Linked DNA regions of Homo sapiens: regions 1, 3, 4, 5, 6 and 7 are each linked to region 2. The links are contacts of gene promoters, found by promoter capture Hi-C in blood cells and fetal thymus (Javierre and others, 2016). All regions are on one chromosome and are shown on one strand. Each heading gives the region's core, a stretch centred on a gene start or on the middle of the fragment in contact. The rest is flanking DNA. Distances are from core to core; before and after follow the strand shown.

What was found. Contacts are between HindIII fragments. The CHiCAGO score rates a contact against its expected background, and 5 or more counts as called.
Region 1: a fragment that was not itself captured here is called in contact with the fragment with the promoter of CALCRL in region 2 in 8 of 17 cell types (megakaryocytes, endothelial precursors, M0 macrophages and 5 more); the score reaches 18.2 in megakaryocytes.
Region 3: a contact is called between a fragment that was not itself captured here and the fragment with the promoter of CALCRL in region 2, in 2 of 17 cell types (fetal thymus and monocytes). The highest score is 7.7, in fetal thymus.
Region 4: a fragment that was not itself captured here is called in contact with the fragment with the promoter of CALCRL in region 2 in 1 of 17 cell types (M0 macrophages); the score reaches 5.4 in M0 macrophages.
Region 5: a contact is called between a fragment that was not itself captured here and the fragment with the promoter of CALCRL in region 2, in 1 of 17 cell types (monocytes). The highest score is 6.8, in monocytes.
Region 6: a fragment that was not itself captured here is called in contact with the fragment with the promoter of CALCRL in region 2 in 1 of 17 cell types (monocytes); the score reaches 6.2 in monocytes.
Region 7: a fragment that was not itself captured here is called in contact with the fragment with the promoter of CALCRL in region 2 in 2 of 17 cell types (monocytes and fetal thymus); the score reaches 9.1 in monocytes.

Annotation. Positions count from the first base shown.
Region 1 is chr2:186,880,110-186,882,809 of GRCh38, reverse strand. No RefSeq gene overlaps it. Among named protein-coding and RNA genes, the nearest start is that of ZSWIM2, 32 kb to the right of the region's middle. The HindIII fragment of the contact is 581 bases long and covers 1,082-1,662 here.
Region 2 is chr2:187,446,570-187,449,635 of GRCh38, reverse strand. It overlaps CALCRL (calcitonin receptor like receptor), which reads left to right and starts at 1,384. Exons shown (of 15, transcript NM_005795.6): 1 at 1,384-1,597. The region is part of intron 2 of CALCRL-AS1 (CALCRL and TFPI antisense RNA 1); the gene reads right to left. The HindIII fragment of the contact is 1,657 bases long and covers 1-1,488 here.
Region 3 is chr2:186,585,617-186,588,463 of GRCh38, reverse strand. All of the region lies in intron 1 of LOC124906105 (a long non-coding RNA gene), which reads left to right. Among named protein-coding and RNA genes, the nearest start is that of ITGAV, 3.0 kb to the left of the region's middle. The HindIII fragment of the contact is 4,635 bases long and covers 1-2,847 here.
Region 4 is chr2:186,644,602-186,647,706 of GRCh38, reverse strand. ITGAV (integrin subunit alpha V) reads right to left here. Exons shown (of 30, transcript NM_002210.5): 13 at 830-1,021. Among named protein-coding and RNA genes, the nearest start is that of FAM171B, 48 kb to the left of the region's middle. The HindIII fragment of the contact is 1,759 bases long and covers 885-2,643 here.
Region 5 is chr2:186,836,567-186,839,266 of GRCh38, reverse strand. It overlaps ZSWIM2 (zinc finger SWIM-type containing 2), which reads left to right. Exons shown (of 9, transcript NM_182521.3): 4 at 98-308; 5 at 1,713-1,961. Among named protein-coding and RNA genes, the nearest start is that of ZSWIM2, 11 kb to the left of the region's middle. The HindIII fragment of the contact is 1,990 bases long and covers 291-2,280 here.
Region 6 is chr2:186,518,935-186,522,022 of GRCh38, reverse strand. LOC124907920 reads right to left here and starts at 942. Exons shown (of 1, transcript XM_047446761.1): 1 at 424-942. The coding sequence starts at 846. The coding sequence ends at 439. The HindIII fragment of the contact is 1,106 bases long and covers 1,279-2,384 here.
Region 7 is chr2:186,479,227-186,482,238 of GRCh38, reverse strand. The region is part of intron 1 of LOC105373785 (a long non-coding RNA gene); the gene reads left to right. Among named protein-coding and RNA genes, the nearest start is that of ZC3H15, 5.5 kb to the left of the region's middle. The HindIII fragment of the contact is 1,180 bases long and covers 701-1,880 here.

The DNA.
Region 1 (2,700 bases), core at 123-2,622, 570 kb after region 2:
GGATCAGCTTCTGTCTGATCTTTCTTGGAATGCTGATGGGACCCAGAATACTCTGGCTGCCTGGGGGCCACTACGAACAATAGAGCTGAATAGCATGCTGTTGCTTCAGAGGGACCACAGTACAGCAGGCAGACGCTGATAATGACTTTATGGTCTATTGCTCAGGTTGCAAAGAAAAGAACAGGACAGGTGTTTTGGCTTTTGGGGGAGCTGTCCAAGGGACTGATTTCTGTCTCTTTTATCTCAAAACATGGACAGCACTCAGCATAATCTAGATGGCTAGGGACCAATGAAAAGAAAAACAAGCTGAGCAATGTGCTCCTGCTCTAGAGGGCCCATGGTACAGCAGAGAGAAGACAATATAGCTCAGTGGACTCTCCCTCAGGGGGAAAAGAGAAGAGTGGAATATGCATCCAAAGATCCAGCTTTTGGAGGGGATGCCTGAGGCACTGGTTTCTGTTTAGTAAAACTTGGGGTGCTGATAAGACCCAATATCTTCTAGATGCCTGCGGGCCACTGAGAACAAGAACAAGCTGAGCAACATGCTCAGAGAAGATACATCCATAGAAAATGTTTCAGAAATTCTCAAAATCTCTAGCTAAGCTGATTAGTGAATGTCTTTTCCTTTTATAAAGTCAATCTGTAAAGACTAGGAGAGGTGACTGTCTTTTCAAATGCATAGGTACCAACACAAAGTTACAAGGAACATGAAGGAAAAGAGGAAAATAATCCAATCAAAGATACAAAAAAAAAAATTCCAAAAACCAACCATAAAGAAATGAAGGTATGTAAATTTCCCAACAAATAATTTGAAATAACCATAAATATGCTCAATGAGCTGAGCAAAAATGATACATGAACAAAAAGATAATTTCAATAAAGAAACAGAAAATATAAAAAAGAACTTAACAGAAATTTTGGAGAGGAAGAATGCAGTGAGTGAACTAAAAAATTTACTAAAGAGTTTCAACAGCACACTTGACCAAGAAGAAAAGAGAATAACTAAACTTGAGTCATTTTAAATTACCCAGTCAGAGGAACAAAAAGGAAAAGAAGAAAAGAAGTGAAGACGACCTAAGCTTCTTATAGAACACCATCAAGTGGACCAATATATGCACTATGGAAATTGCAGAAGAAGAGAGAGGAAGAGAAACATAAAATTTATTTTTTTAATTGATGAAAACTTTCCAAATCTGGGGAAGAAAATAAACACCTAGATTTAAGACACCCAATCTAACCAAATTAGGAAGATCCAAAGAAATCCACGCCATGCCACATTATAATCAAATTGTCAAAATTCAGACAAAGAAAGACTTTTGAAAGCAGCAAGAGAGTAGCAACTTGTGATTTACAAGACAACTCCCATTAGACTATCAGCATACTTCTCTACAGAAATCTTACAGATGAGAAGAGAGTGTAATGGTATTGATGGCATATTCAAAGTGCTAAAATGAAAAAACTGCCAACAAAGAGTACTAGATTAGGTGAAACTCTTTCTCAAAAATAAAGGAAAAATACAAAGTTTCTCAGATAAGCAAAAGCTGAGACAGTTCACCACTGTAAGACCTGCTTTACCAGAAATGCTAAAGAGTCCTTCAAGTTGAAATAAAAGAGATAAAACAGCAACAGCAACTTCTATACAATTATATAAACTGTAAAGCTTGTTGATAAAGGTAAATATATAGACAAATACAAAATACAATAATAACGTAATTGTAGTGCAAAAATCACTTTTAATTTTGGTATAGAGTTAAGAGACGAAAGTATGAAAATAACTACAACTATATTAAAATGTTAATAGATACACAATATTAAAAGATGTAATTTGTGACATTAATAACATGAAGAGGGGGCAAAAATGTAGTTTTTGTATGCAATTGAACTGAAGTTATCAGCTTAAAATGGATTGTTATAACTATAAGATGTTTTATGTAAGCATCATGGTAACCACACAGAAAATGCCAATATAAGATACACAAATGAGAGAGGAATCAAAGCATGTCCCTACAAAAAAAAAAAAAATCAATGAAACACAAAGGAAGACAACAAGAGAGGAAAAGAGGGGCAAAAGAACTATGAGATAGAAAGCAATTAACAAAACTGAGGTAGTAAATTTTTCCCTATCAATAATTACTTTAAGTGTCCACGGATTAAACTCAACAATAAAAAAATCTAGAGTAGACATAGTGGTTAAAAAAAAGACAAGATCCAACTATATGCTGACTATAAGAGACTCACCTTAGATTTAATGACACACATAGGCTGAAAATAAAAGGATGGAGAAAGATATTTCAGGCAAATGGTAACCAAAAGAGCAAGAATAGCCATACTTAGACAAAATTGACTTTAATTAATTGACTTTAATAAAATGTCTTTATTAAAATTGACTTTAATAAAGTGTCACAAAGAGACAAAGAAGGATATAATAATAACAAGTTAAGAACAGGTTCAACTTGTTACTATTGTAACAGGAAGATATAACTATCTATCTATCTATCTATCTATCTATCTATCTATCTATCTATCTATCTATCATCTATCTGCACTCAACATCACAGCACTTAAATATGTGAAGCAATCATTGACAGAATTGAAGGGCAAAATAGGCAACAAAATAATAATAGCAGACTTCAATATACTACTTTCGACATAGATGTAAAAATCCTCAAGCGAATACACTAAATTTATATATGTACACAC
Region 2 (3,066 bases), core at 135-2,634:
TAAACATTTTCTTCCACTAATTCAGACAATAAAAATGTCAACATGAGCACCCTGCTTTAAAAACATGATATTCCTGAATTTATTTTGCCTTTACCTCCTTTGTCTGCCTACAAGGTGTATGGCACCTCATTTTATCCTGGAATTGCACTAACAATTTACTAAGAGTTGAATGATCCTCACCGTATCTTATCTATTTCAAAATGTTATGAAATTTGTCGATTCAAAGCCTTAGACATAAAATCTATCTCTTCTAGTTTATAGATGAGAAAATTTATGCCCTGATAAATTAAGTGACTTTTAGTGCTGTTTAGGTTATAGGGATTATAATTATTGCTTCATATCGAACATTTACCAAATTATAAAAATGATAAAAGCATTTTAAATTTACATTTTCCCCTGATCATATCCAATGATGTATTAAACATATTCAGGAAAAACTATGCTTTGAGATGAAATTTTGTCTAAGAAATAAAGTATCCTTTGTATTTATATTATTTTATAATATTATGTTTACAACATCTATATTTTCTTTAAGATTATATTGACTTACAAATATTGTGGTATAAATTATTTTATATTATAAATAACATAATTATACCAAATATTTTTAAATGTGTGCAATAATTTTAAAATTATGAATTATTCAAAAGGCTATTTTGTCAAATATATATACTTATATATTATAAAAGAAACACTCTATACACACACATACACAACCTGAATTTATAACACATACACTCATGTTCTTATGAAGAAGGTAAAGGAAAAAATAAAAGATTTAAAAACTGCAGGATAAAGTTTCTTGATCTAATTAACTGATTAGGAACTGCACTTAGGAACTGATGGAGGAACAGCACCCAATTAGCAGAGCTCCAAATTAAGAAGAGCCAAATCACAAAACCAGTTATGATGAATACAGTTAATTTTTTTTTCTGTGTTGTGCTATGAACACAGATTTGTTAGATTTTTTTTCCTGGATACTTTGTAAGCTATAATTCAACACACACACACACACACACACACACACACACACACACACGCCTAACTCCTTTGATTCTTTGAGCAGAATACTATATTCAGATTTCCTTCAAATCACAAGTAGCTTGTTTGGCAAGTTCTAACAGAACTCAGTCAAGGTGAAAGCCAGCCAGCTTTTTACTGGTAACAATGTATTCACACAGCCTATGATCTCTCTCTGTTCAGGCTGCTTCTTGCTCTTGTCTCACAATAAGAAAGGAGTGCTGCTTTCCTGGGGTATGCTATTTGAGAAAGAAAGTAACCTAACACTAACTGCAGGCGGGGTCAGAGTGATGTAACAGGAAGCTCTGATGTTTCCCTTCTGCTGCTGATCACTTACAATCTGACAACACTTACAATCTACTCAGAACAACCTCTCTCTCTCCAGCAGAGAGTGTCACCTCCTGCTTTAGGACCATCAAGCTCTGCTAACTGAATCTCATCCTAATTGCAGGATCACATTGCAAAGCTTTCACTCTTTCCCACCTTGCTTGTGGGTAAATCTCTTCTGCGGAATCTCAGAAAGTAAAGTTCCATCCTGAGAATATTTCACAAAGAATTTCCTTAAGAGCTGGACTGGGTAAGTGCACATTCAAAATAAATATATTTATTCTAAGTAGTATTCTCATATAGTTTGGCAATGTTTCTATTATAGAATTTAGTAGATAGCACTGAAATAATGTTGAAACATAGTCTCACTTATTTCACATGCTAGAGAAAATACAGCCTACTACCCCAACATGAATACAAAATCTAATACTACTAGATAATATTGTTTACCATGGTATTCTAGAAAATAAATTTAGCAAGTATTAAAAATCTAAATGGATTAAAAGACATATTTCTGAACAAATACCTTAATCACAGAACAATGTCTTTTAAAATTAGCTCTAATATTAGCTAAGCTTGAATCTTGACAACTGGAAAACATTTCTCCCCCCGGAAGGGTCTTTAAACTTTCCATGTTATCAGCTGTAAGAAAGAGGTGAAAGAATAACTACTTAATGGGTCTCGGAGTCTCACTTACTCTGTGGTTGATCATAATGCAGAGTTTTGAAAAGTAATCACTTTGTATTTATTACATTTGCTTTTATTTGCCTTTCACCTTTATTTACACATATATCTGTAACTACTGAACTAATTTTTGTGTTCATTGTTGCCAGATGTGTTTAAATCTCTCTTCTGCTAACCCTGAACTGTTTGCTCTTTATTTGGATCATGGTGTCGGCTACAAAGAAAAAAAAAAACCTAGAGTTTAGGAAATGTAGATTTTTAAAACAATTCTTAATTTTGAAATCTTTAAGAGAATACTTCAACTTGACTGGTTCCCCTCTGCAAGCTTTTGGAGGGGGGTGTGATACCACGATATCTGTGGATAAAGAAACGTGACAGCTTTCCCAAAGAAGTATATTAGACGATTAAACAAAGAAATTAAAGTATTTATTAAAAAAGAATTTCCAGGATGGAACTTACTGAAATGTTGGATAAAACATCTGTTAATGCTCATTCCGATAGTACAGACTGTCCTGAACAATTTAAGAAACTAATGTCTGCTTAATAAATTGTTTGTGTAGATATATCACAAATTTGTTGCTGGAGAAAGTTTGATGTCAAATTTTAAATGATGTTGATAGATATGATTTTTAAGTTATATATTTTCTTACCTAAATGCAATTATACTTTCCAAGATGTCCTGCATTGGAAGCATCCTGTACTTAATCACTTATATCTGGCACATTAATAATAGACTACAAACATCCTGAGTAACTCCTCAGTAATTTACAACTCAATTTTTCCACAAATTCCTCAATATAATGAAAATTTAAATTAATTCTTAGATTTGTGATTCTTTAAGAGTATCATGGCTGATTTCTCTCTCTTTTCAATCTTCAGTTGTACTGAGTTCCCTGACACATGTGTAGAAATGGGAAAAGTGTTTTTAGAATGTGACTTTAGCCATTATATAAATGGGGGAGAAAGTGGAAACAACACATTTACTAACCCAATGACGTGGGTTAGTAACAAAAATTAAAACAACATTATTTTTAA
Region 3 (2,847 bases), core at 50-2,549, 860 kb after region 2:
TGGGCAACACAGTGAAATCCCGTCTCTACTAAAATACAAAAAATTAGCCGGGCGTGGCGGCATGCGCCTGCAGTCCCAGCTACTCAGGAGGCTGAGGCAGGAGAATTGCTTGAACCCGGAAGGCGGAGGCTGCAGTAAGCTGAGATGGTGCCACTGCACTCCAGCCTGGGCCACAGAGTGAGACTCCATCTCAAAAAAAAAATGCATTAAATATTTCCATTTTTAAATTTGACTAAAAGATATGCAGCAAAACCTTTGGCATGTTTTACAAGGCATGGTCTAGCATCTGCCTGAAAGAAATTACTGATTGAGAGAAGAAATCCTACACAAATCCTTACACATAAATGCAAATACAGCTTATTTCTCACCTTCTTTCCTAATACACCAAAGAGGCTATTGATATGTATGCATAAACCCAAAGGGTCTTTTATATCTTAAAAACATGACAACCAGTCTACCTGGAAATCCATCCAGGTAAGGAAGACAGAAGAGTTTAAACTCTGGCTAGATCCAGTAAGTCTCCCACTCCTCAACTTCTGATCGCAGGACAGGGGTCCGACAGACCAAGGTGGAGTGAAGAAATGTGAGAGGACCAGGGAAAAGAAGAAGCCCACGAAATGACAACACATGTACACCCACCAAAACTTGGGTGAACAACACACCCCCAAATAGGGCTACAACTTACTGAAAGCACTTACTGTTGAGCCATTCTTTATGAGTTTATTTTGAATGAGCAGTCTTGAAAATCAAGGAATTTGTTTTTTTTAAAAAAGCAAATAGTCCAGGCACTGTGGCTCATGCCTGTAATCCCAGCATTTTGGGAGGCCGAGGTGGGTGGATCACCTGAGGTCAGGAGTTCAAGACCAGCCTGGCCAACACAGTGAAACCCCGTCTCTACTAAAAATACAAAAATTGGCCGGGCGCAGTGGCTCACTCACACCTGTAATCCCAGCACTTTGGGAGTCCAAAGTGGGTGGATCACGATGTCAGGAGTTCAAGACCAGCCTGGCCAAGATGGTGAAAGCCTATCTCTACTAAAAATACAAAAATTAGCTGGGTGCAGTGGCAGGCACCTGTAATCCCAGCTACTTGGGAGGCTGAGGCAGGAGAATCACTTGAACCTGGGAAGCAGAGGTTTCAGTGAGCCAAGATCGTGCCACTGCACTTCAGCCTGGATGACAGAATGAGACTCCATCTCAAAAAAGAAAAAACAGTAGCCAGGCATGGTGGTGTGTGCCTGTAATCTCAGCTACTCAGGAGACTGAGGCAGGAGAATTGCTTGAACCCGGAAGGCAGAGGCTACAGTGAGCCGAGATATTGTGGTATTGTGGGCCACTGTGCTCCAGCCTGGGTGACAGAGCGAGACTGTCTAACAACAAAAAAAAGCAAACATACATTTCAATTAGGAAACTATGAAGCAGACTAACCCAGTGGCTTTAGAAACTTGGGGTTATAAATGCAGGCATCTCTTTGTGTGACCATGCTCGAGCAGCCACTCACACAGTGCCTTGCAAATTGTATTGTAGAACATGTCAATTCAGCTAGTGCTGATTCAAAATCCACATTGCACCTGGTACTATGTGCATGGGACAGAGAAAAGAATGTTTTAGTCTACGAAAGAATGGTGGTGCCCCTCCCCTACCCCCATGACACTACTCTTTGAACTACATTATAACAGTTTTCCAACTTAAAAGGAGAACTTCTGTGTATACATTAAGTATTCATTGAATATAATCCTTTTCTTAGAAAATAAAATATTAGATAGTAAAAAGAATTTGTACTTTGAATTTTATCCTCTACTACCCTATACTTTAGTAAAAATCTTGATTCCAGTGGTTTCTGTAAAATAAAGCACCTGGGTTCCATTCCTGGCTTTGCCAACTACTAGTTGTATGACCCTGGGGAAATCAATCCAACCAATCTGTGCCTCAGTTTTCTTATCTATGAAAGGGAAAGGGGAGTAATACTATGTCTATCTCTTAGAATTGAACAGTTCTTGTTGCCATTAATACTTTTAAGACTAATAGTTTAGCATGGTAGCAATAATAAATTTTTTTTTTTGAAACAAAGTGTCACTCTGTCACCAGGCTGGAGTGCAGTGGCGCCATGTCAGCTCACTGCAACCTCCGCGTCCTGGGTTCAAGCAATTCTCCTGCCGTAAATTTTTATGACTATTATTTCACTCTCTTAGTTCCCCTAGTGTCTGTCCAACAGGTCCTTCAATAACCATAATCAAACCAGGGCTTCACGCAGCTCTGTCTCTGCAAACAAAGGAACTTAGTCCATAATTTAAGAGGAATTTCAAATTTTATCTCTCTCAAAGAACCTCAAAGGAGATTCAGTTAATAACCCATGGGAACTTCAGAAATCTGCTTCTTCTACTCTCAATTTCTCTGGAGACTTTAACCCACTAAACCCTGCCCTGGAATTTTTGTTGCTGTTTGCTTGTCTAACTCACTCCTGTCACTCCTCTCTTGGCTGTTTATTAGGGAGACTGACTTGTTCTCTCTTCACCCCCATAACCACTTCCACTCCCAGTGCTGCCCTTTCCTATCTGATCTGTATCAGAAAAGATTCTGGCCAGCACTTCTGCTCTTTGGGTGAATGGGAAAGAAGAGAAGGCAGGCAGTAAACTTGTTACCTTTCTGGGCCATGTTTCCTAAACTACCCCTTCAATGCTAGGATTCCCTAAGTCTCTGTTCTTGAATCACTGCAGTTCTCCTCAGGGTGATCTTATGCATTGTCATGCTCTCAACTCTCATTTCTTAACACTTCCCACCTCACAAAGGAGCTTTAGCCATATTAAATAACTTAACTTTTCTCCAGAGTGCTATCTTTGCTCAAAGG
Region 4 (3,105 bases), core at 515-3,014, 800 kb after region 2:
TTGCTCTACTGGACCTATGCAGTGGGCAACCTTGGGTAAACTGCCTTTCTCAGTCTCTTTTTACATTCAGAAATGGTATAATAATGAGCTATAAAAATGAGCTTATATTAACTCATGTATTAATGGGAGAATTAAATAAAATAATATACTTGAAAAAAAAATCACAATGAAGGCCGGGTGCGGTGGCTCACGCCTGTATTCCCAACACTTTGGGAGGCCACGGCAGTTGGATCGCTTGAGCTCATGAGTTCAAGACCAGCCTGGGCAACATGGCAAAAACCACTCTTTACAAACCATGCAAAAATTAGCCAGGCATGGTGGTGCTTGCCTGTAGTCCCAGCTACTAAGGAGGCTGAGGTGGGAGGATGGCTTGAGCCCAGGAGGTGGAGGCTGCAATGAGCCAAGATTGTGCCACTGTACTCCAGCCTGGGCAATAGAGACATACCTTGTCTTAAAAAAAAAAAAAAATCACAACTATTAGTCAAGTACATATATTCTACATAATTAAAAAAATAAAAAAGATAGCTAACATTAAAACAGCTTAGAATGAGCATTTAACTTTTGTTTATAACTTCTGTAATACTCTTCTCATTTCATTAAAGACTACAGGAGAAACTCAGAGTACACTGTACACTCCCAGGAAAGAGAGCTGACTTTTCTTCATATACCCTTAGGTGACGGGAATGATGCCTTGAATATTTTAGAGGTTTGATCAACATATGAAATACTGAATTGCAATAATTTATAACATAAATCAAGAACAGTAACTAATACTATTTGCTATTAGGACTGAAAAATCTAAGGGCTCTATGTGTTGATAAGAAAGCACCTGGATATCCATTTTTGTCTATATCTGTGGCTCCTTTCATTGAATAGCCAAAGCTTGGTGGCATGCTTCGAGCAGCCCACTGCCCTTCAAGGATTTGAGATGGGACTGCGTTCAAGCCTGTTGATCTTCCATTGAAGATATAAACAATTCCTTTTTTATCTTCACCCCCATATGGAGCAGCAATTGCAATATCTGTGGGGAAAAAAAGAGGAGGGGGAAGGAGAATGACAGAAGTAAGGAGGAGGAAAAGAAAGGGAAGAATGAGGAAGGAACGAGAGAAGGGGGGAAGAGGGCAAGGATGAAGAGAAGAAAGTTTCAGTACTTGTAATTATTTGTACAGATCTTAATATTTATAGAACCCATTCATCATGATAAATACTAATTCAAAGTTCAGTAGGGTACTCTTTATCCATAAGCAATAATCTAATTCAAGGAAACTCAAGCAAAACTGTACAGAAAAGACATTAATTTAGGGCCAGATAATCTGGCTCTGACCTTAAACCAATCACTTAAACTTTCTGGACCACAAATGCTTCCTCATTAAAACTAGGGGTAGGGGATGGAGGAGGACACATCAAAAGATTCATCTAAAGTTTATTTTCACTCTCAAAATTCTAGATAATTTATTTATGGATGGTATTGTTTTTTCTGAACAGAAGCCAATCTGCTCAGAAATTCGTAAGTTGTGACTTCATCTTGATCTTGCTCAACTTACACTGAAAGAAGATAAATGAATAACATTTTAAATCTTTAAAAAACCCCAAACACCAAATTATCTTTTCTACCTCTAAAATGTATTACCAATCTGCCCACTTCTCTCTCTGCTGCTGCCACCCTAGACAAGTCATTGCCGCATTTTGCACTTAAACAGCCTTTTTTTCTTTTCTTTTTAATTTTTGTTTGTTTGAGACAGAGTCCCGCTCTTTTCCCCAGGCTGGAGTGCAGTGGCACAATCTTGGCTCACTGCAAGCTCCACCTCCTGGGTTCACACCATTCTCCTGCCTTAGCCTCCCGATTAGCTAGGACTACAGGCGCCCGCCACCATGCCCGGCTAATTTTTTTTGTTTTTTTTTCAGTAGAGACGGGGTTTCACGGTGTTAGCCAGGATGGTCTCGATCTCCTGACCTCGTGATCCACACACCTCGGCCTCCCAAAGTGGGGGGATTACAGGCGTGAACCACGCGCCCGGCCTTAAACAGCCTTTTAAGTGGCCTCCCACTTCTACTCTTGCCTGTAACTTTCTCTTCAAAAGGGCCAAACATTCACCATATCATGTCACACCCATCCCCATCTTAAAATCCTTCAATTAGTTCCCAAAGCATTTAGAGTAAGTTCTAAACCCTACCTGGTATTTCCATTGTTTACCATGCAAATCTCATTCCTCTCCCCATCCCCACCCCCACGCCATCCAGTTTTTTACCCTTATTTACTCTTTCCAGCAATCCTGGCCTTTTTTTCTGTTTATTAAACACACCAAGCTAGCTTCCAACTATGGGCTTGTATTTGCTATTCTCTCTGCCTTTTGCTCCAGAGCTTTTACAACTCTATTCCTTCTATTTGTCCAAATGATAGATCAATGTCGTTCTGTCATTAGATCAGCTGTCATTCTGTCAGCAAGCTATTCCCTAGCCACCCTACGCAGCAGTGCACCACCCCTCTCGACCCCCTACTTTCTCTATCACCCTCTCTATCCCGAAACTCTATTATATTACCTTGCCTTCTAAAAAATCCATCATCTTTATCACTATCTGGATTTCCCCATTGTTTACTTATTCTATGACTACACAAAGTAAGTAAGCTATAGAACATAAGCTTCATGAGACCAAGGACATGTCGTATCTTGCCTATCACAGACCCTACGTACCAGTCATAACAAATTGCCTCAATTTCCTTAATGTACACGAGCTGTCTCATAGCTCCTTAATAAGCCATGCCTCATCATCTCCTGGCTCCCCTGAAACATCAACGATGCCTTGATCACTCATCCTTTATATGAGACCATTAAGCCTGGGATCTCAAACACTGTGATGATCACATTGAGGTACTTTTTTTTTTTTAAACATATATGCTGCCCCCATTGGATGCTGAGTTTCTTAAAGACATGAGTAGACTCTGATTTATGCTCATTTTCACCACCTAGAAGAGTGCCTGGCCTGCAGTAAACACCAACTAAGAATTTGTTATCCTTAAAAATGAGTACCTAACTTATGTAAAAGTATTCTTTTTATCCTTTTTTAAGCCTTAAAGGTAAATCGGCTGGGCACGGTGGCTCACGC
Region 5 (2,700 bases), core at 36-2,535, 610 kb after region 2:
ATATTTGAAAGAAAATTCTAACTTTCAGCATAAGTTGTTACCTCTCTGTAGCTCCAATTTTATGACTGGATTTTAATACTTTGGGATTTCTCACTAGCTGCTTTACAACTGGGTCTTGGAGAAAGAGAGATAAGTGACTTGCTTCGGGGGATACATCGAGTTCAAACTCCCCAACCAGGAACAAATGACGAAAATGAACATGTTGAAGAAGATGGGTACATTAAACAGAAGGAAATTGATTCAGAGGATATCTGCTCTATTTGTCAAGAGCTACTTTTAGAGAAAAAGCTTCCTGTCACCTTTTGCAGGTGATGTACTTTTTCTTTAGATTCTTAAAACTAATTAAAAATTCTAAAACATATTTCTGATTTATTACCTTAGGAGACATGATAGGGAAAAAATAGACAACTTTACCTACTGCTAATTTATACTTAATTAACATTCTTTTATTTCCTAACACACACACATATATATAATATATATAATATAAATATATTATAATATATTACAATATAAATATAATATCTATAATATATAAATATATATCATAGAAATATATATATTATATATAACATATATGTTAGGAAGCAACATATATATGTGTGTGTATATATATGTTTTGAGCTAAATATATGCTCTTACTCTAAATCTTTCTGAGCTACACTACAAGGGTAAAAACTGAAACATAATTCCACAATTATTCCTCTTCCCACCTTAAGTAACAAGGGTAGAGTAATTTCTGTGTTTTTATTTTATACACATGAATAAATGTGATGGTTTATTATAGTTATAAAGACTTTTCTGAAAGTAAAGATTATTTTACTTTGAAATTACAAAAATTATTTTTAGTTTTTCAAAATTCTATCTTTAAACCTAAATAATTCAATTTTCACATATGTACAAATCTTTTTTTTTTTTTACTCATTAATGCCAACAATAATATTTCTTTCATCCCTTTCATTCTGTCTACATAACCAATTCTTGTTTTGTTAGACCTCAGATCAGCTGTCTACTTTTATTTTATTTTATTTTTAATTTTTTTATTATACTTTAAATCTTTATTGAGAGTCTAATGTTCATACTTTTCTTCACAGCACTATAAAGTTGGACTTGAAAAATTTGGACAGTCATTTTCCATTGCAATTTTTTTCTCCTGATCATTCTTTTTTCTTCTGATAATTTAACAAAACTTTTGTCCACACTGTAGTTGTTCATGTGTCTGCTTCTATTGCATATTGTAAAATTATTAACTACTTTCCAAAATGGTATTTCTCTCAGCAGATATTTCTTTGGTACTACCATGTATTGTGTGACTTCTGGAAAAGTATGGTGGCACCCCTGCTCTCAGTGAAGCATTTTATTAAAATAATAATAATTATTATTCTCCTTTGTGTTAAGCCTATATTCATTCTCACTTTACAAATGAAAATATTTTAATGATGCAAAATCTTTCACCATTTCATTGGAATGAAGGAAAATTTAAGTTTGGAATTCTGATGTATTAAAGATGATAGATTACTAGAATGAGTGAGTGTGTGTGTGTAATCAAGCTATAGCTGAAAATCAGTTCAGAATCTATTTTTTTGTGGAATAAAGATGGTAGCACAGGAAATTTTATTTATATAAATATATATATAATATATATATATATATACAATGGATATGTAAAACTGCTCTATACAAATGGTAAACTTCAATTTTATCTCTCATAGGTTTGGCTGTGGCAATAGTATTCATATAAAATGCATGAAGATCTTAGCTAATTATCAGAGTACATCAAACACTTCCATGTTGAAATGTCCTCTGTGCAGGAAAGAGTTTGCACCATTAAAACTGATTTTGGAGGAATTCAAAAACTCTAGCAAACTAGTAGCTGCAGCAGAAAAAGAGAGACTGGACAAACACCTTGGGATTCCCTGTAATAACTGCAAACAGTTTCCAATTGAGGGGAAGTGTTATAAGTAAGTGTTATCCGTAAATTATAAGCATGTGTTCTTTTTTATTTTTTTACATCAGGAAACTTTGAGCATTAGAGTACCCGTTCTGTAGCCTCCCTCTTCCTGCATATACTGTTTGACTTGTGTGACGACTGCTTATTTAGGACTCACAGACTGACTTCTATCTCAGTCCAGTATCTCAGGAACTCCAATCGTTTTATTTTCTTCTCCTGTTCAAGGGTATTGGTTTGAGCTCTGGTCCAGATTGGGTCTGAAGTAGCACCCCATCCTAGAAGCTCTGGACACAGGATAGGTGGCTTTAGCCTACATAGGTTTCCAAGCTTAGAGCCTTGCTGGATCTCTCACCCTCTGTAACTTTCTTTGAACTACCTTTGAAGTCATTGCCAAAAATTCCGAAGATTGGGCCAGAGAGACATTGACTGGATTGACTGAATATTTAATCCAGTCCCCCCTACTCCAAATGGCAATGAGTACAGGTTTTGTTTTATTTCATATCTTATACTTCAACAACTACAAAAACATAGTAATTATTAGAGCAAACAATTTTCACTGTGAGTAACCCCCAAACTTTCCCACAATTCTCACGATAAAACATAAATTAATTGCTATGCCTAGGAAATTTGTATTTTCTTAATTAAAATTTTAAGTTAACAGTACATTAAGAAGAAAACATTATTTCAATCTTTGTCACATTTTTTTGAAATGTATCAGTTTATTTTTCAGCCTTCTTGAATTACATTAT
Region 6 (3,088 bases), core at 582-3,081, 930 kb after region 2:
ACTGAGACATTCCATTGCCCAGGGGATGAGCAGGAGACAGATGTCTTCCTCTTTTACTAATCCTCCTCAGCACAGACCCTTTACGGGTGTTGGGCTTGGGGACGGTCAGGTCTTTTCCTTCCCAGGAGGCCATATTTCAGACTATCACATGGAGAGAAACCTTGGACAATACCTGGCTTTCCTAGGCAGAGGTCCCTTCGGCCTTCCACTGTGTTTTGTGTCCCTGGGTACTTGAGATTAGGGAGTGGTGATGACTTTTAACGAGCATACTGCCTTCAAGCATTTGTTTAACAAAGCACATCCTGCACAGCCCTAAATCCATTAAATCTTGACACAGCACATGTTTCTGCGAGCACAGGGTTGGGGGTAGGGTTACAGATTAACAGCATCTCAAGACAAAATTTTACTTGGTACAGAACAAAATGGAGTCTCTTATGTTTACTTCTTTCTACATAGACACAGTAACAGTCTGATATCTCTTTCTTTTCCCCACATTTCCCCCTTCTTTTCGACAAAACCACCGTTGTCATCATGGCTCGTTCTCGATGGTCGCTCTCTTCGGAGCTGCTGGGTACACCTGCAGACACTGTTGATACAGTCTTCAAAGCTGCAAGCAGCATGTTCTCTGGAGTTTGTGTCACCTTTGTGTTCTCTAGGCTTTTTTTTAGCTAACTGTGTCAGCTTCTTTAATTGTGCCCATGTCGGCGGCTCCGCCTTCTTGGTGGATGGCAACTTCATCTGTTCTTCTGACATCACCATTCTGTTCATCTTGTGAGCCGATGGTGCTCGACTGCGGTGTCTCTGTCTCCGTGGAGGTGCTTTTCTTTGCATCTCCGACGGGTTCATTGTAGAACTTCAAATGTCACAAGGCTGACTGTAGACGTACTCGGGAATCTCGTCGACTTGTCCTCAATGATCATGCTCGAGCATACCTTCAACCTAGAGAAAAGCACCCACGTTGGGCACCAGATGAAGGGGTGGCCTGCCCCTCCACACCTGTGGGTGTTTCCAGTCGGGTGGGACGAGAGACTGAGAAAAGAAAGAGACACAAAGTATAGAGAAAGAAAAGTGGGCCCAGGGGACCGGCGCTCAGCATACGGAGGACCCGTGCCACCAAGAATTCAGATTATTTGCCAACATTGTGAAATGAATTCATGCAGTTGTGAGAATATGCAAAATGTAGAATTTATTACTCATCAATGCAAGCAATTTTTTCCAGGTTGGCACTGGGCCTTTCAAATGTAAAACTGATAATTTTTAATATGGTCACACGAAGCTTGTTATTTCAGTGATAAGCTGTGGAGAGTTGATAGTTGACTCTAGCTAAAATCTTGCCAGACACTATGTTGTTTGACATTAGCTAAATGATTATACCAATGATGTGTTCAGGGCTTGAGGCAAAACAAAATGTCATCTTATTATTTTCCTTGAATTTCTAGAGCTTAGTTTTTAAAGTTTAGATTTTGAACAAGTTGTCATTTAAAAATGTTTTCCCTGTTTTTACAGTAGTCTTCAGTATGTGGACAAGTAAATGAACCAAGGAAACAAAAGTGGTCAAACGTGTCTCAATATTTCTTGAGCTCTAATATCCAATTTAAAGCAATAGTTTTAATCTGAACACCTGAAAATAAAAATGAGACATAATGATATATCTGTATCTTTTCTGAGGTCATCCACTGAATATTTCAGCTCCTATAAAGTTCTATAGGGTTTTAAATGATTTGTTAGTAGTTACTGTGGCTTCAACATAAAAGCAACATATTTAGGGGAATCACTTTAAACAGTGAAGTCAAAGGAAACATGTATTACAACAAAAACACTCTTTATGCAATTCAATAGACCTCTTTATTAATTTCTCCTACAGTTCTTGACGTTTATATTACATCTGTTATTTTAGTGAGATTTTAATATTTCATACTCCATTCATATATAAAGAATTTCTACTCAAATGCTTAAAGTATCATTCATGTTGGCCATTAAAAAAGAATCTTATTAGAAAAATCAGATTATTCTTTTCAGGTTGTCTTAAACCTTAAGTTTCTCAATATTAGCAAAGCTATTTCTGTCAAAAGTAGAGTAATGTTGATTAAAAACATAAGCTACCTGGGTAAACATGAGGATCTAGCTGTGAGGAATTAGCTGGGGGTTCTGTAGTACTCAATGCCTATTTTAGAAAAAGGATCCAATCAATAACCTCAACTGCTAGGTTAAGGAACAAAAGCAAATTAAACCCCATGTAAGCAGAAGAAAAGAAATAAAGATCAGAGGGGAAATCAGTGAAACAGCAAATTTATAGAGAAAAATCAGTGAAACCATAAGCTGGTTCTTTGGGTTGATCGAAAGTTGACAATTACTTTTGCACCAACCTATATAAATTTCAAGCTTTAACAGCAGAAGGGTCAATTTCTATGTTTAATCAAAAATAACTGTCTATGGGACTATTGAGCTGGTTTCAACAGCATTATCCTGATACAAAAACTACAGATTAATTCATCAATTATGAACATAGAAACAAGTACGCTAAGTTTTATCAAATCAAATCCAACAATATATAAAAAGAAAATGTATCAGGATCAAGTGGGGTTTATCCTAGGAATTCAGGCTGTTTTCACCATATTAATAAGTTTTTAAAAAAGCCATTTGATCATCTCAGTAGATTGAGAAAAAGATTTGACAAAATCCAAAATCCATTCTTGATTAAAACAAAATACAAAGCAACCCCCCACTAAGTCTCAGTAAACTAGGAACAGAAAAAAAACTTCCTCAGTGCATTTATGATATACAGCTAACGTCATTACTTAATCATGCAAGACTGAATGCTTTCCACTTAAGATCACAAACAAGGCAAGAATGTTTGCTCTCATCACCAGCACAGTACGGCAGAATTTGACCAACTTTTTCTGTCAGTCTCTGTGGCAACTACACAACTCTGCCATTGTAGCATGAAAGCAGGTATAGACAGTGCATAAAGAATAAAACTGTCTATAAGTTCGCTGACTCATGCAATAACATAAGACAAAGAAATAAAATGTATTCAGATTGGAAAGAAAGAAAATCATCTTCATTTACAGAGGAGTTTGTCTATGTA
Region 7 (3,012 bases), core at 41-2,540, 970 kb after region 2:
TAACGCATTGCATATTTTCTTAAATATAGGTGCTTAATAAATGTATATTTTAGTGGTTCTCAAATTATGCTCATATGAAAGAGTTCAGTAGGTTGGACTAAGATGATCTACTAAATTGAATGATGATGTATTTCTAATTAACAGAAAAATATTTTTTTTCAATTTTAAGCTTTTTTCCCTCATAGTCATTCTTAAAAAATTAGTAGATTGCTAGCATTTTTCACCTAGCAGATTAAAAAAAAAAAGAAACAGTAATGGATCAAATATTTCATGTGACTGGAAAACCTATATATTCAAAATAATGTGGGGACATTTATGTAAAATATGGTCTTATGTTACAGTCTTTTTGGTGAAATTAAATTTATTAATATATTTTAAATTTTTCCATATAACACCACAAGTTCCAGGTATTTGCTACCTGAAAACATTTCAGAACCACTGTTTTAATGGATTGAATACCATCTCACCTTATAGCTGGATTTAGTGTCATTTATCCTTGAATCCTAAAACCTTTGAAGTGGGAAAGTTGTTCCTAAAAGAACTATCAAATTAGATTCTTCTTATGAAAGCTAATTTTCCATTTCTCTTTTATGACACACTGTATAAAAGGTCATGTTTTATAGTCAAAATATGTGGGTTAAATTTCTTCCCTTCCACTTATATAGGTGACTTTAGGCAAATTGTTGGACACTGGTAAGCTTTACTCTTCTTATATATAAAAGAGGAATAATACTGTTCCTAGCTCATAGGGCTATTGGAAGGACGAAATGATATAATGCATGTCAGTCACTTATTAGAGTACTTGGCACATGTAAACACATAATTAGTGGATACTACTATATAATTCAGGTCATAGTGTAAAGAAGTAAGGAATTCAGCATTGATACATTAATTTCTAAATGAGCTTACTCCAGTAAATATGGAGAATATAAAATCAGGAGATTGGGTGACTGAATGTGGGAGCTGAGGGGAAGAAGTCAGAAAGTAGAAGAGGATCCAGGTGGCAAGCATGGGCAAGTGATCAATGTGGGTGCCAGGGAGGTTACATAGGCAATGATTGGAATGTGTGGCCAGGGCAAGAAATAACATATCCAGTTTTGGCTCTGCTGAATTTATGGTCCTAGTGCGTCATTTATGTGGCAAAATCCAATGGTATATATTTGACTTGTAAACTCAGAAGAGAGTTTAGAACATGGTGGCCAATGGGAATGGATTACTTTGAAAAAGATTGTAGAGAGCCAAAAAAGAATAAAAATGTGAGGAACAATGTTTAAAAGGTAAATACAGAAAAAGAAGTTTAGGGAGGAAAGTGAAAAGAGGCAACTGTGGCAGGGACCCTAGGGAGAAGAACTTTTTGGGTAGTAGAGTATCAACAGGGCCTGGTAATTTTGCCTTGAGTTGGCTTAAATACGGCTACTTACTCATTCCACATTAGGATGAATCATACTGGACATCCAATTTAAGACATGGCTATCTGAAACAAGTGTATATTTCCAACTCTATTGACCTATATTTCTTTTCTTACATATATGGATACTGCCATCTGCTGATAACTGGCATTTTTGAGGGGTCTTTTTTGTAATTATGACATTGTATTTAAGGTATCGTTTCCCTTGTTCCCTTTTTGGATATATTCTTCCCACAGGTCTCCACATGGCTGACTCATTTTCATCCTACAGATAGCAGCTCAGGTGGCAATTCTTCTAAACAGTTATCCCTGACCACTACATCTAAACAACTTCTACCCTCTGCTCCTAGTTAATATCTATGTCATCATGTGTTTCACTCCTTTAATTTTAGATTTATCTTAATTTGTAATTACTTTGTGTTTTTATGTCTTCATTTCTTACTTGGGTATCTCTTGTCCCAGAATATAAGCTTCATGGGAGCAGGAACCTTGGCTCCCATCAGGTGCCTAATGCAACCTGTCTCTTAGAAAGAGCTCAATAAATGTGCTTTTAAAAATGAGCGATGGTGGCCGGGTGCAGTGGCTCACGCCTGTAATCTCAGCACTTTGGGGGGCCAAATGTGAATCACTTGAGCCCAGGAGTTCGAGACTAGTTTGGCAACATGGCAATACCCCGTATCTACTAAAAACACAAAAATTAGCTGGGCGTGGTGGCACATGCCTGTAATCCCAGCTACTTGGAAGGCTGAGGCACGAGAGTAGCTTGAACCTAGGAGGGGGAGGTTGCAGTGAGCAGAGATTGTGCCACTGCACTCCAGCCTGCGCAAGGAGCGAGACTTGGTCTTGGAATAAAAAAAGATGATGAGCGAGAACTAGAGCTGGCTGAGAGTTCTTGCCCCATTTGTGCTATAAGAGTATATTTAGTTTTGGTATTTATCTTATCTTTTGAATATGAATTTAACAAAATCTTCTGTGCCAAGATGTTATGATCACCCTGATACATCTGGGGATTTTTCCAATAATAATGGTGATGTGCTATTTGTCCCTAAGTCCAAGATTACACAATAAAGGAACAAAATTAATAGATGGCACTTACAAGGATAAATGTCTTTAACTAGGTGTATGCATACATTTGTAGGTGCCTTTTCTTTTGAGTTCCCCTGATGATGCCTCAGCTGCTTGTCATGGAATGTGGGTTTGTAATAGTGGGGAATGGGAAATGGGCAATGTGGAAAGGAAAACGTTGCTAATATATTTACTTGTGCTCTGGACGCGAAATAGCACTTCGTCTTCTTCAATGATGCAGATTAACAACACAAAATGAGAAAAGATTTCAAAAATTCTGTGAGAGAGGTCTTTTCCAGCAGCAGATTATTCTGGAAGTCCTGGAGGGGGCCAGCAATTGTCACTAGCAATTATATTTTCTGAATTAAATAATGGAAAACAGTCTGAAACATTTATTCATGTTCATACAAAGACAAAAGGACAAAACGTTTGAAACTGAATCAGTCCTAAAGTCATTCACAAAGTATAGGTTAACAAAGATATGCCATCAGTATATGGAAGATAATGTGGAACCATAGTAGATGAAATGACTTCCCACC